Linked DNA regions of Homo sapiens: regions 1 and 2 are each linked to region 3. Evidence: promoter capture Hi-C in 16 types of primary human blood cells and fetal thymus (Javierre and others, 2016). All regions are on one chromosome and are shown on one strand. The core of a region is centred on a gene start or on the middle of the fragment in contact, and the rest is flanking DNA. Distances in the headings are between cores, read along the strand shown.

The links. Contacts are between HindIII fragments. The CHiCAGO score rates a contact against its expected background, and 5 or more counts as called.
Region 1: a contact is called between a fragment that was not itself captured here and the fragment with the promoter of ZNF703 in region 3, in 1 of 17 cell types (endothelial precursors). The highest score is 5.0, in endothelial precursors.
Region 2: a contact is called between a fragment that was not itself captured here and the fragment with the promoter of ZNF703 in region 3, in 11 of 17 cell types (megakaryocytes, naive CD4 T cells, naive CD8 T cells and 8 more). The highest score is 9.4, in megakaryocytes.

The regions. Positions count from the first base shown.
Region 1 is chr8:37,136,950-37,141,356 of GRCh38, reverse strand. No RefSeq gene overlaps it. Among named protein-coding and RNA genes, the nearest start is that of KCNU1, 350 kb to the right of the region's middle. The HindIII fragment of the contact is 5,325 bases long and covers 1-4,330 here.
Region 2 is chr8:36,868,094-36,872,643 of GRCh38, reverse strand. All of the region lies in intron 19 of KCNU1 (potassium calcium-activated channel subfamily U member 1), which reads right to left. Among named protein-coding and RNA genes, the nearest start is that of KCNU1, 86 kb to the right of the region's middle. The HindIII fragment of the contact is 1,273 bases long and covers 684-1,956 here.
Region 3 is chr8:37,693,373-37,698,071 of GRCh38, reverse strand. ZNF703 (zinc finger protein 703) reads right to left here and starts at 2,290. Exons shown (of 2, transcript NM_025069.3): 1 at 1,850-2,290; 2 at 1-927. The coding sequence starts at 2,092. It overlaps LOC124901932 (a long non-coding RNA gene), which reads right to left and starts at 4,142. Exons shown (of 2, transcript XR_007060887.1): 1 at 4,072-4,142; 2 at 3,289-3,657. It overlaps LOC124901933 (a long non-coding RNA gene), which reads left to right and starts at 2,391. Exons shown (of 2, transcript XR_007060888.1): 1 at 2,391-2,632; 2 at 3,089-3,327. RefSeq lists enhancers at 1,359-1,901, 1,902-2,445 and silencers at 2,180-2,279, 2,330-2,679, 3,467-3,651. The HindIII fragment of the contact is 16,475 bases long and covers 1-4,699 here.

The sequences.
Region 1 (4,407 bases), core at 419-2,918, 560 kb after region 3:
GATTGAATAATGGGTACGCTTTGGATGGAGACTGTCTAAATTGTTGAGTTCATAAAGCATTAGAAGACATGATTTGTTATTGTGAGGATAAAGTCAGTCATTTCTATGCTTACAGTAGCTTCCATACCTCAGCAATGACAGAATACACAGACAGGTCCTCATGTGGTGAGTCTGAGGCTCAGACCAAACGGGCCAATAACCTGATGTTCAGCATGGCAGGATTTAAAAACTAGTGAAGCATAGAATTGTCTGAAGCCACCATTTGGGGAGTCAAGGAGTTCATGCTATCAGTGGCATGAAGGATCTGCAATGCATATCCATGTGAACCAGCTGCTTCTCCAAATCTCTAGCTTGCAGCATTTCTAGCTATGTTGTTTTGGTGAAGGCTGGTGATTGGGGGAAATGGGAGATGCCATGGGGCCACAGGATGATGGGAAATGAAGTGTCTCTTTCTCCAAGGCAGCTGAGCTTATTTTAATGGGCAAGGTCAGCAATGAAATGACCAGGAAGAGAAATTGCTGTCATTATGCATCAGTTGCAATCTTATATCAATTATTCCCTGTACCATTCCCTTTGCCACAGGCTGAAGCAAACATGGCCCTAATCAGTTTTACATCTCCGTTTAATTTTATTGGAAAGAAGAGCTGGCAATGCATCACAGAGGCCGGGTGTGACAGAAAAGGTGACCCCCCTGCCAACTTAATGGCACAATACATAACCCTTAATGAAGTTGCTATCTTGTCCCTCTTTTGCTGTCTCAGCCTGGTGATTTGTGATGGCATCATTTTGCTTTGCCCTCTTTTCATTTCAGCTTTGACAAAGTGGATGAAACAATTATCTTCGTTATCAGCCAAAGCAGTAGAAATGTGATAGTTGGGGAATTTTTGCAGGTGGACGGCCTTGGCTGAGGATCAAAACCAATGGGTGAAATGTGCTTAGGAATTTTTTTCCTCTTCTCTTCTTCCTGTGACTATGGGCTCCTGAAGATGGATTGTGTATCCCAATGAGCAGTGCGAGTCCTATATCACTGTGGCAAGAAGTAATTTCAAGAGAAGGGACAGCTGCAGATAGAAGAGAGCTTGGGATTTTGCAGTTTGTTCCTGTTGAGCCCCTTATATTTGTTTTTCCGTGCATGCCCAGGCCAAGTTTTTTCTATTTTTTAGAGTCACGTTGTCATTTTACATCCACCTGCGTGGATAGAACATGCATTTTTCTATATTATAAATGATACCTTGCATTTATTTAGCATAATTAAAAGTTATTTATTTGTTCACTGATACAAACAACATTTATTGGGGGCCTTCTAAATGTTAAAGAAAAGTAGGTGTTGTAGAAGTACAGAGAAGGAACAGCTATGGATTTTATACTCAAGAAATGGAATATTTTCCCTTTGAGAAATGAGACATGAATATAAGTGAATGTATCATGAGATGGAAAGAGATAAGAATAATTAGAGATATAAACAGTGAGCACTGCACTTGTTCAGAGGAAGAAGTTATTTCCAAAATGAGAGAGCTGGACCTTAAAAAGAGGGTAGGATTGGCCGGGCGCGGTGGCTCATGCCTGTAATCCCAGCACTTTGGGAGGCCGAGGCAGGTGGATCACGAGGTCAGGAGATCGAGACCATCCTGGCTGACACTGTGAAACCCCGTATTTTTAGTAGAATACAAAATGGGCTTGGTGGCGGGCGTCTGTAGTCCCAGCTACTCGGGAGGCTGAGGCAGGAGAATGACGTGAACCTGGGAGGCAGAGCTTGCAATGAGCCAAGATTGCGCCACTGCACTGCAGCCTGGGCGACAGAGTGAGACTCCAGCCTGGGCGACAGAGCGAGACTCTGTCTCAAACAAAAAAAACAAACAAACAAAAAAAAGAGGGTAGGTTTAGAACAAATAAAAATGCAAAAGCATTTATATTTACTATTTTGTAGGCAATGAAGATATGTAGATGGATAGCTAGCTATAGAAATAGATTCGGCTTTGGTAGCAGTTTTATGATACTTTGCCAAAATGATATGGGAGTTGGGGGAAAAAGATTGGATGTGCTTTGGGCCAGGGCAATGGTGAATTGTTATTCTAGTTTTCACTCTGAATATCCAACTGAAGGTGAGAATATAGCATATCTTGTTGAGAAAGAATTTTAATTTTACTAGTGACTTCTGATGTACTGTAAGAAAGGGGTCTATGAAGGCTGGGATGAGAGTGTGCTGTGTCTTCCGTTGCTGGGCTTGGCTTGGTTTCCCCCTCCCCTTCTCTCCAGTGTATGGGCCTGAGATGCGTGGTAGGAACTTAGACATTCATGGCAGAGGGCTAGACCTGTGACGTCCTCTGCTGGTGGATATTTATGGGTATGAATACACAAATGCATACTGTAATTGGCTAACATTTTCCCAGTGCTCCATTTTTGTTTTGTTTTGTTTTGTTTTAAGTAGATAAACTTGTAAAATCCTACTCCAAGTATTTCTTTCCATTGTTTTGGACTCAGGAATAATTACAATTAGTTTTTATGAACTTCATAGGTTCTAGGAAGTCCAAAGTTCTATAAAGTCCAAAGATAATTGGTTGGAGGTTCTTTTTTCAATGAGACTCTCATTGCAAATAACACCCAAATGGGGCCTGTGTTATTAATGGGATTTTCAAAATAGTGAACCTTTTTCCCAGTGCATTCCTCTCAGGGCGATGGAGAGCTATAATGTTGACATGGGTAATTGGAGGCTTAAGTATATCCTTCATATAAATCTACATGTAAGTAAATTAAAAAATAAATACATGAGATAAATTGACATATTTGTATATGGAGAAATTATCCCCAGGAATGTCAATATGCAATCTATTTCATCTCTGCCATTGATCTGCTCTTATTTGGGGTATAGAGAGGGAAGAGAATAGAGAAATGGGGCTGTTCTGACCCTGAGTCTATTTTCTAAAAGCAGCATAGTCAATATTAAACTTTTAAACTAGTACATTGACACGATGGTTGTCTAAGTCTACAGTGAAAAATATCAGGGAAGCATTGTGAATGTAAGGGTCACATTCAATATGCAACTGAGATGTAATGGTCAGGCTGTGAGATACACAGAAGGGAGCCTGGGACTGACATTTTTTAATGCTCTTGCTCCCACATTTAATCACTGGTGCATGCTTCCCTCACTTACCTGCCTCACCCCTGCACCCTCCTTTCCCCCAACCCAACCCACTGCCCAGCAAGGGCTCCTGCCCTGCCCAGAAGGGTACATTACATTCATCACTGCCTTTGATGTTAAAACCTGCCTGCAACTTGGTCCCTGATGGGTGCTGTGCAGCATGAAGAGATTAAAATAACTAGAGCAACAGCAACAAAGCACCCAGAGCTGTTTCTCTTTGCATTCTCTTGGTGCAGCATCTGAGAGAAGTGGGAGGTCCATTTTCGCCTGCTCTTCTCTTTATTCCTATTAAGTGGTGAGTTGAAGGGGCTGGGTGACCCAGAATACAACTAGTACATCACGTGCAGCACCATGTGCCCAAGGACCATCCAGAGACTCCCCCTGAGCAGGCAGGGGTGGGCGATGGGATAATCTTTGGGAAAGAAAACAAGACATTTTTTGGCTGGAGTTGGAGAAAAAGGGAGGCGAGAGAGGGGAACCCTGCAGTTACTTCCTTCGATCTCAGTAAATTGGAAAGGTCTTTCCCTGATGCCTGCTGATATTTCCTGATGGAAATTTCTTCCATTGACAGAGATACAGATGGAGTTTACCGACATGGGACTGCAGACACACTCTGGGATAATGAAAAAATGCCCAAGGTAGCCATATGCTCAGTGGCAGTTTGTTAGAAGGAACTCCAGTTGGGTGAATACATAATAGCATTTTTGGCAGCATTGACTAAGGGAGATCCTCTGTACTTCCATGTCTTTTTGCATTTTTTGGTCTAATTTATGTGGATTTTGAAGTTGCAGTCCTGTTTATTAACATTCATTATGAGGTGCTCTTTTCTCCAATCATGAAATTTATTTTCAAGAGATCAGAGTGACCTGAGGAAAGTGTAAAATTGTGGAACAGATTCTATCTTCTCCTTCACTTCCTTAAAACCTCAATTGTGACCTTTATTTTATTTGAATAACTGTCTTATAATTAACAATGGTGCTATTAATGATGATGATGATGTTACAATGTTATTATTGTTATTATCATCATAACAGTTTCCTTGTATTAAGCAATTATAGCCTAATCTTAGAAGTTAGTATCCTTGTTGCCCAATTGTGGAAACTGGAAATCTTCAAGGTTTTTGCCCAAGGCAGCACAAGTAGTACCTATCAGATTTGGGATTAGAGTCCAAGTCAGCCTTGTTTCAAAGCTTCCGGGATTCCAGCTTTCCAGAATACAAGTATGCCTCAATTTGAGGGACAGGAATGGATGACAAGAATAAGTATTTG
Region 2 (4,550 bases), core at 71-2,570, 820 kb after region 3:
AGGCTTACTACTCAATGCTGGGAACTTCTCTCAAAGTCTTATACTTAATCTTCTCATCATTTCTATGAGATTGTATTATTTATTTTACTGGATGGGGGATCTGAGCCACAGGACAGTAAGTGACTTGCTTATGGTCACAGAGCATGAACATCACAGAGCTGTGATCTGACAATCTACAGTTTACTGCTGGAGCCCCCACCATAGTTACAGGGCGGGGCGGCGTCCCCCTTTATCTCTCTTTCTGAAGCCAAAAAGCTAACATAGCATAGCATGCGATAGGCTTCGAGATGTGGTATTGGATGTACATAGAAGACTCTTATTGGATGTTGCCTAAAATTATACCTCCCCTATACGTTGACACCTGAAATTTGTTAGTTAGGGCTTTGTTCCTTAGCTGAAGTCCCTGATCCATGATGAAAGGGAAGCTGCCCCAGAAGGGTTAATATTTTATTCTTCTGTTTTTGCAAATGAAGTTTTAAATAATAGATGTTGATGAGGACATTTAAATACCTGGGGACTGTGAGCCCCTGAGAAAGATGATGATAAGGTGTTACTCAGAGGGCAAATAACACAAAGTGAAAATCAGTGCGATTTGCCTACTTCACATTTTTTTTTCTTGGAAACTATGCAAGTCATGTCTCAAGGCCTTGAAGAGAGTTTTACTTAGAAACAGTGACTAAGCTTCGCATAACCTTCACTTTGTCTTATAGAGTTGGTCTTTTATATATGACCCTAAACAGACAAGGTCTCATTCCTGCCTTTTAGGAGATTATAAATGAAATGAAGAATAAAAGCATGCAAATAGTAGTTAACTAATGCAAATAAATATATGCACTCAGTAAATGATCAGTCATCCCATAGTAATTTTTATCGCAATGATCTGAGGGCCACTTCCTCATCTTAGCACCCAGCCAAATCAATTTCCATACCCGTAATTCCAGGAGAATTTGTTTTTAGTTTTTTAAAAGACCTGTCCACAGACTCACAAAGATATTTACAAAATGCCTTGTCTCTCCTTTATTATAGTCTGTGAAGCTAGGCAGGATGAGGGAGATGACAGTAACGAAGAGAGATGCTGACTTTTCTATGGTACAATTCTGATGCTTTTAAGAAGCCTGAAGCTATTTTTCTGCTATTTTTAAGCAATAACAATAAAATTTTGTTTGTTAATCTAAAGAATCAGATTATTCAATACATACCTGATGAATTATTGCTCGCTCTCTCTCTCTCTCTATGTATATATATATATATATGGTACTTTGCTAGGATTGTGGCACATTGCTTCCCAAAAATGGGATTTTCACCTATGAATACAAAATAAGAACTAGAAAAGAGGTATTTAGAGGATCTGAAGGAAAATATCTAGTCATCTTTTCAAAATTCTTATTCTTATATTCCCTGCCACCCTAACTCTTTCATCTGTCTTTGGAACTCAGGCTCATTGTGATTAAAAGTATAGTTTTTATATGTATATGTGTATGTATATTTTCAATCCTACCTCTAGATTATCCCTATAATTATATGAGAATATATTTAGTCCTGCTGTCTTCTTTGGTCTTGCTATTGAGACCTGATGAAGATATTTATTAAACTTCATTGCAGACACATAGCCCTGCTAGGGATTCTGGTGGTCCCAAATTATACCATCAATTAAAATGAGAGAAAGCATATTTTAAAGGTTCTAAAATCTCAGGTGGAAAACCATAGAATGGGAAACATAAGTGCCAATGGGACTCTTGGGGAAAGGTAACTCTGAAAGATGAAATACTGGCCATATAGTGTTAAGTGAATGTAGATTTCCAGAACATGATTTGAAATGCTACAGTAAAGGCATCACTCAGTAGGCTTATATGAATGAAAGAACCAGAGAATGCTTTTGATTTACTAGTTATGGGCTACATTACACTCAAATAGGAAAGCCTATGCTTGTCTGGAGGGAAAGTAGTTTTAAAAGCTTAATATAAAATAAGAAGGGATAAAAGGAATTGCTCAGATAATCTCATCTGATCAGTTTCTGTAGAAAGCTCAGATATGACATGAAAAGAGCCATGTACGGTGATTTGTATCCGATCTTCTGCCCCCACTAGGTGGACTCAGAGGCTGGCTCTCAGTAGGAGTTCAGACATCATTGAGGCTAAAAGATGGGGATTCTCTTGCCTGAATAGTTTGGAACACAGAATTCGATAAAGTGTACAGAACTGAGAGTAAAAAGGGAGGAAGGGCTCAGCTTCTTTTCCTGAGACAACAGGGTATGTATGGCAGAGGGGGCATGAAAATAAGAGGTCATAGGGACAGGTGTCTCAGGAGTCATGCGTGAGCATAAATTATGTAGGGCTGGAAATAGATGTGCCAGAAAAGAAACAAACAACTTATCCCAGTTGGATTGAACCTCTTACATCTTTATGGCCAGTGCACTACTTACTAGCAAGCTTCCAGCTTGGCAAAGCCTATCCTGGCAGTCCTTCTGGATGGACTACAGTTTGGTTGGAAATGAAAGACTGCCATAGGATTACTGGAAGGCACTAGAAAATAGCCAAGGAAGGAGCTGGAATTGCCATGGAAAAGAATGTTCTGGAGGGAGAATGGCAAGCTATAGGCCGACTTGGACATGGCAAAGTGACCTTACCAATGGTAACTACTGCATCGTAGATCTTCACTGAAAACCCTGCTGGTATGCTTGTCAGGCTGGTGGTCTATAGATGGTGGTTGTAGACAGTGAATTAAATCTTGCGAGGTCTTGAACTCTGTAACCTCTCCACTAAAATGTGAAAGAAAGTGGTAGCAAAAACGTAGAAGTCTAAGAACCAGAGACATGACGGCAGAGGGTGACAGGAAATACAATGACAACAACAGCATGAAACATTTTTCACTTGCTGTATTTTCACTATGTATATTAGGCACTACATAAGAATTGAATCAGTCCTGTCTCAACCAATCCTCACAACATTTCAATTAGATTCTAATATCATCTCATTTTACAGATGAGAAAACTGAAGCTTATAAGCTAAGAAGATGGCGATCTGGAGCTCATGTCTGCCATAGGTGCTATTGCTCATGGCTAATATTTGTGGACCACTTATCCTTGAAAGAACTAAGGCTGACTTGGACATTGGCAAAGAGAGAAAAAAATAGCATTTACGGTCCCTGGTATCTGTAAAAGAACATAAAGAGGATGGAGATGAAGTTGATATTATAAATGTGATCTCATTCATAGATACCATTAAGACATGGTGAGAAAGGATGTTATATGGAAAAGTATTTAGATTTCAATATGGGCCATAAGTTGACTTAAGCAGACCCAATAGGGAGAATTTCCAGGGAAAGTGTGATAGGGCCAAACAAAACAAGCATTTCTATTAAAAACGTTTTCCTCTCCTGGCCCAGGTCTGTTATACAATGCTTGGAAATTTCTGCCTTGTTTCACCGATTAAATATCTTTCACTACTCACTTGAGATTATTCGCACCTACTTTTTAGAAAGCTGGATAATTTATTGTGGTTATGGTGTTATTAGTCACAACATCATACAAATCAGTTGTATCTAAAACTTTTCTTTCTAATATCTAATTAAAATCAGTTTTACTAAAGAAGAGAGTTTTGATAGAGAAGAAGCAGAGAATAGTAAATAATTGTGTAATAGGTAGAATGGGCAAAACTGTCGTAACTCACCCAAAGTGGAATGGCCAAGGTAAAGAAATTGGAAGCTAGGACCAGGGAGCTCCAGAAATGAATGAGATTCATTTTCACTTACTATAAAACACTGCACAGGTCTAACTTTATCTCCCTGAAAAGAAACAGGAAATACTTTCTTTCTCTTATATCATGTGATCCCTTGATTTAAGGACATAAAATTCAAGCAAATAGAGCTAATGTTTGTATACTTATTCATTCAACAAATATATATTTAACTACCATCTATTAAACAGTCTTTTGTGTGCTAGCCTGACAACATAACTGCTGTTTATAACATTGCTTATTCTATGGGAAGAGAAAGACATCAGGGATACCATAAAATATTGGATAATAACTTTTGTATAAGTTAGGGCTGTCTGTAATGCTTTAAGTACTAAGAATAGAAAATAGTAGTTTCTGAACTTACTGGAAAACCCACTGGTGGCCTGAAGATTACATCTTTAAAAATATCAAGTTCATTGTCAGCAAAACTATAAATAATAATATGTTGCTTTTGGTTTGTGAATATAAGACTATTAAGGCATAAAAAAAATGGATCACAAATAGCACATAGCACATACTTTACATTTTTTTTCCAAAAATGCCTACTAGTCTCTATTAAGCCATCCAGTTTATTTTACCACTCATTGTTGTTATGGCAAACATAGATCCTCTAGACATATGTTGCCAATTTGCTAGCTGGAACTCCCTTTGTCCTACAACATAAACACAAAACAAACACAAACTGTTTTCTATGGTACTAAGTGGGAGTACTCTATCACTGACCCATTAACACGGTACGTAAGTCACCTGAACTAACCAACTCTGTTGATGAAATATCACAGAGACTCACCCTCAAATGGAACATATTTGTTCAAG
Region 3 (4,699 bases), core at 1,041-3,540:
GTGCGAGGCGCCGTGGTAACCTCCCAAGCAATAGGGGTCGCGGCATAATCCCTGCAGGAAGGAGGGCGGGGAGGCCCCGGTGAGCGGGCTGGAGCTGGGGGGCTTGCCCGGCGGCAGGCCCAGGCCCCCAGACAGCTGGCCTCCCACGAGGCCGGACTTGCTAGGATCCAGGCCAGGCACGAACTGAGACGGGTAGCCGGCGTAGGCGCCCACGATGGAGCCGTGGTAGCCAATGCTGGAGGGCGGCAGCGGGAACACCGAGTGGCCCGGCTTGTAGGGAGACACCGGCGCCACGTGGCCGGCCCCCACCAGCGCCGAGGGCGGCTCGGACTTGCGCCCGGAGGCCCCGGACTCGGCGCCACCGTGCGCCCCGGGCTCCCCACCGCCGCCGCGGCTCACGGCTGCCGGCTCCGGGCTGGGCTTGGGCTCCTGGTCTTTCTTGTCCAGCTCCCCGCCGCCAACCCCGCCGCCGTTCTTGCAGTCAGAGTGGTGCGGGGAGCCGCCGCGGGAGCCGCCGGGCGACGACGAGGACGAGGATGCGGAGACCGGCGCTCCATGCGGGGGAAAGGGCGGGCAGGCGGCGCTGGGGACCCTGAAGCCCGCCTTGTCTCCCGGGGACGAGGAGGACGAGGAGGAGGTGGAAGACACCGAGGAGGAGCCGCTGTCTTTGCGGGAGTCGCCGCCGCCGGAGCCCTTGGAGTAGGGCTTGAAGCTGGACTTGTCCTCGGCCGGTGAGTCCCCCAGCTGCTTCAGGGCCGCGGCTGCGGAGGCGGCGCCCGGGGCTGAGCGGCCGGGGTCCTTCTCCGCTCCCAGCCCGTTGGCCGCCGCCGCCACCGAGTTGAGTTTGGAGGAGGGCGGCGGGTCCGGCTTGCCGATCTGCGAGCAGGTCTGAGCCAGCAGCGCCAAGGGGCTCTTCTTGGCGTCCAGCTGTGGGAGACAGAAGCAGGGGGAGGGAGAAGGAGTGAGACTCAGAGGCCTGCGGGGCGAGCGGGGGCGCCCGGGGAGCTGGGCGGCGGCGCCACGGGGCGGGGCGGGCCTGGGGAGAGGGTCTGCGAGCGAGGGCCGGGCCGGGCGCGGCAGCTGGCGGAACTGCGCCCACACTGCCGCTGGGTCCCGGGGTGCGCCGCAGGCCCTGCGGAAGGAGTTCACCCAGGACCCCTGCGGGAGAAGGTGACGTCTCTGGAGTCGGGGCTGTGACTCGCCACTTCCCTCTAATGTCCCCCTCCTCCAGGCCCAGGAAAAAACTTATTCCTTTAGTTTGGGGGAACTTCGCTTGGGACGGGTTTCTGGCGATGGCGCCGCGGGGTAGGAGAGGGGAGCGCGGATTCTAAAGGAGGGGCTGCAGTTGGCGCTCTCTCCGTAGCCCCTCCCTCCCGGGGAGGGCACCCAGGGAAGAGGCAGGAAGAAAGATCCGGGATCGGGAGCGCCAGGGCGCCGTGCGCCCTCACCGGATGGGACAGAGGCGAAGTGGGACCCGGGCAGCCAGGGCTTCAAAGAAAACAGCCCGGCGTGGGGGGCGGGGAAGACCCAGCAGAGACCAACTCCTGGCTGGAAACTGGGGATCAGAGGAAAAGTAAAGGACCCAGAGGGGACTCCAGGAGCAAATCCAATCCGAGAGAAAACACGGAGCTCCGAAGGGCGAGCGTGGAAGGAGACCCTTCCACGGGGAAGCCTGGGGAAGCCCTGGTGGGCTCTGATCCCTCGGTTTTCTTCCCCTCCTCACTCAGCCCGCCAGCGTGACCAGACTTGGGTGTCGCACCGAGCCCCGGGGCGCTGGGAGCTGGGTCAGGGTCCCGGTCGCGGTGGGAGGAATGGGGCCGGCGCCCGGGGGCAGCGGCCGGGGACTGACCTCAATGGGGCTGACGGGAGTGGAGGACAGCGGCTGCAGGTACTCCGGGTGCAGGAGGTGACCGGTGTGAGCGCTCAGCATCTTCAGGACCCTGATCGGGAGCCGGTTCGCCTGGCGCAGGGGGTCCGCCGGTGGCAAGAGGGACACCGCTGCCGGCACCGCCGGCCTCTTCCCGCCGCCGCCGCTGCCGCTGCCGCTGCTTTCGGGTGTCCTTGGGTTAGATCCAGCGGGCGAATCGCTCATTTGGAGGAGGCAGCGCCGCTGGGGGGGCGGGGAGGGCGGGGGAGCACCGGGGAGGCGAGCTCCCGGGGCGGGTGGGCTCGCTCCGCAGCGTCGATCGCGGTGCAGCGGGAGCTGCGCCTCCTCGCCGCCTCCCCTCCTCCACCGACGCCTCCGCCGCCGCCGCCACCGCCGCTGGCCCCGGCTAGCAACACAAAAACCTTCGCCTTCCTCGAGCCGCACGTCAAATAGCCGCGATCGGCAGCCACACTTCAAAGGGATCGCCGCGCCCGCCCAATCGCAGCTCTCGCCGGGACCCCGGGGCGGGGAGAGCGGCGGGCTGAGGCCGGCTCCATCGGTGGGCGGGGAGAGCCTTAAAGGGGCCGCGCCGCGCGCCGCCGCTGCCTCGGTCTCGGCCGCTCCCGGGATTCCTCCCCTCCCCCCGACTGGGCCTTCCTCGCCCTGGGGTCCCCCGCCTGGGACGGGACTTCTCCGGGACCCTGAGCTCTGCGCCCCGTCCTCCTTTCCGGCCGCTCTCTCTCCTCTCTCCCTTCTCACCACTGGGTGGGTGGGGGGTGATGCTGGCGGGGGCTGTAACCCCGCCCGCCGTGTGTGTCCGAGGTGGGGTGGGGTGGGGTGGGGTGGGGTGGGAGGGATCGCACGGCGCGGGCTCTGGGACGCTGGAGTTCAAGCCTCTCCCAGAGGCCGCCTGGGGGCAGGCCTCGCCTCGGGAGCCCGGGTCCTTCTCCAGAGCTGCTCCGGCTCTCCTCGGCCCCGCTCTCCTTCCCCTACTTGGCCTCCCCTTGGTGTGTTCACTTGGAAGCGCCCGAGCCTCGGAGGCACCCACTGTTCTCGGGACGCGGCGTAGGCAGCTCCAACTACTTTGAGCCCGTCTTGTCTGAAGCCTGCAAGTTTGTCTCCCTTCTGGAGTGACATGGTCGGCGACCAAGCGCGGGACCCCAGGCTGTGCGCGCTGTGCCTGCGCCCTGCGTTAGAGGCTCGGTGTCTGGTGTGTTACAGGCTTCTTACCGTGTCCTGCTGAGGGGCGTGAAGTTCCTCACTGTACCGCGCCCAGCTGCTACGAGGAGAGACCGAGATCACGGGCGAGGCGGGTGTCCCTGGAGGGGGATCTCTCTCTAAGCGCTGCTCGGCAACACAACCCCTCCGCCCCCCCATCCTTCTCACTCCGGGGGAAAAAGCACTTGCTTTCCCCAGGCAAATTTCGGGATAAAAACTTTTAATTAAAAATAACAATACCCTTCCCGACTCCCTGCGCCTTTCTGATACAGTGTGCATTGCTAGCTTCGCCCTGGGCAGAGATTTTACGTAGTCATAGTCCTGACATCCAAGTTCCGGATCCGCCGCTTTTCCGGAGGCGAAGTTGGTCCTTTGGGTGCCGAACTCTGGGGAGCCCACTTCTCCGTGCGCTCGGCGGCCAGTGGAGGCGCGCTGGTGTCACTGCCTGGCTCCCAGCACCACTTTTCCAGTCCCGATCCATCACTCCGGTTGTCAGGGCTGTCACTCGGGGCGTATTGCTCTAGGATGGCAGGTTCCCGACTCTGCCGCGCTGACCGACGCCTTGAGATGACCTGAGAACCCAAGATGGGGAGAGGTGATTTCAAAGGAGCTCTTCAAACAGAAAGAAATAGCTATCACGAATCTGTATCTTGCCCAGTAGTAGAAGACAGCAGACCCCACTTCCAGGCAGTATCAGTCATACCCAAAACTAAGTGCACTCCCTGGATCCATACTGTATTTTGGGCAGCACTTATAGAATGCTTAGAAATTACACAAGCTGTAATTACATGTTCCCCAATTTTAATCTTGGTAAAATCATGTTACGCCGAATGGAAAGGGGTACCCTGACTGTGAGATGGATCCCACATTGCAGCAAGAGGGGTGCGGGAATGAAAAGGGAGGGAGTGATCTCATTTATTTCATCGTGGCAGGCTTCTCATGCCGACTTCTGTGCGGGCAGCCATTGCCATCACTGCAAACACCACCTGTAAAAGTCCACTGCAGGGCTGTGTCCACCCACAAGCCATTTTGCCTTCGGGAGACTGCTGTGTAGAGCGGGAAGGGCAGAAGGAAGCCAGGGTGCAGAGAGGCTGGCCTTTGCAGGAACGCAGAGGAGGAGGAGCTGGGCAGAGGGGAGACCTAGGAGGCTATGAAAGATGAAAGTCTCCCTGATTATTGTAACCAGCCCAGCTGTGAGAGGGAGCCAAGGGATCCTTCTAGGGCCTGAGCAGATGTGTGTTAGAAATGATTAATGGGAAATAAGTCAGGAGGAAAAGGGGAGGGGAGAGGGAAGAGGTATTTAGGAATTTGGAAAACAGAGCAGGAGGCAGCTGAAAGGAGAGAGGGGAGAAGAGAGAGGACAATAGAATATTCACTCTCTGTTTGGAGAGGAAAAGAGAAGGAAAAAGGTAGTGAATGAAGGAAAGGAAGGGAGAGAAGAGGAGGTAAGGACAGACTGGCAGGATGTGATGGGGGATTTGCCTAGGTAATACTATACTGTCCTGTTAAAAACACCTCACTCCCTGAGCTCCCAGTGGTAATTACTGACGGGCACACAGATTGGCCTGCTCCCACCTCCTGGGAAGTGGTAGGACACACCTCTGAAAGCATGCA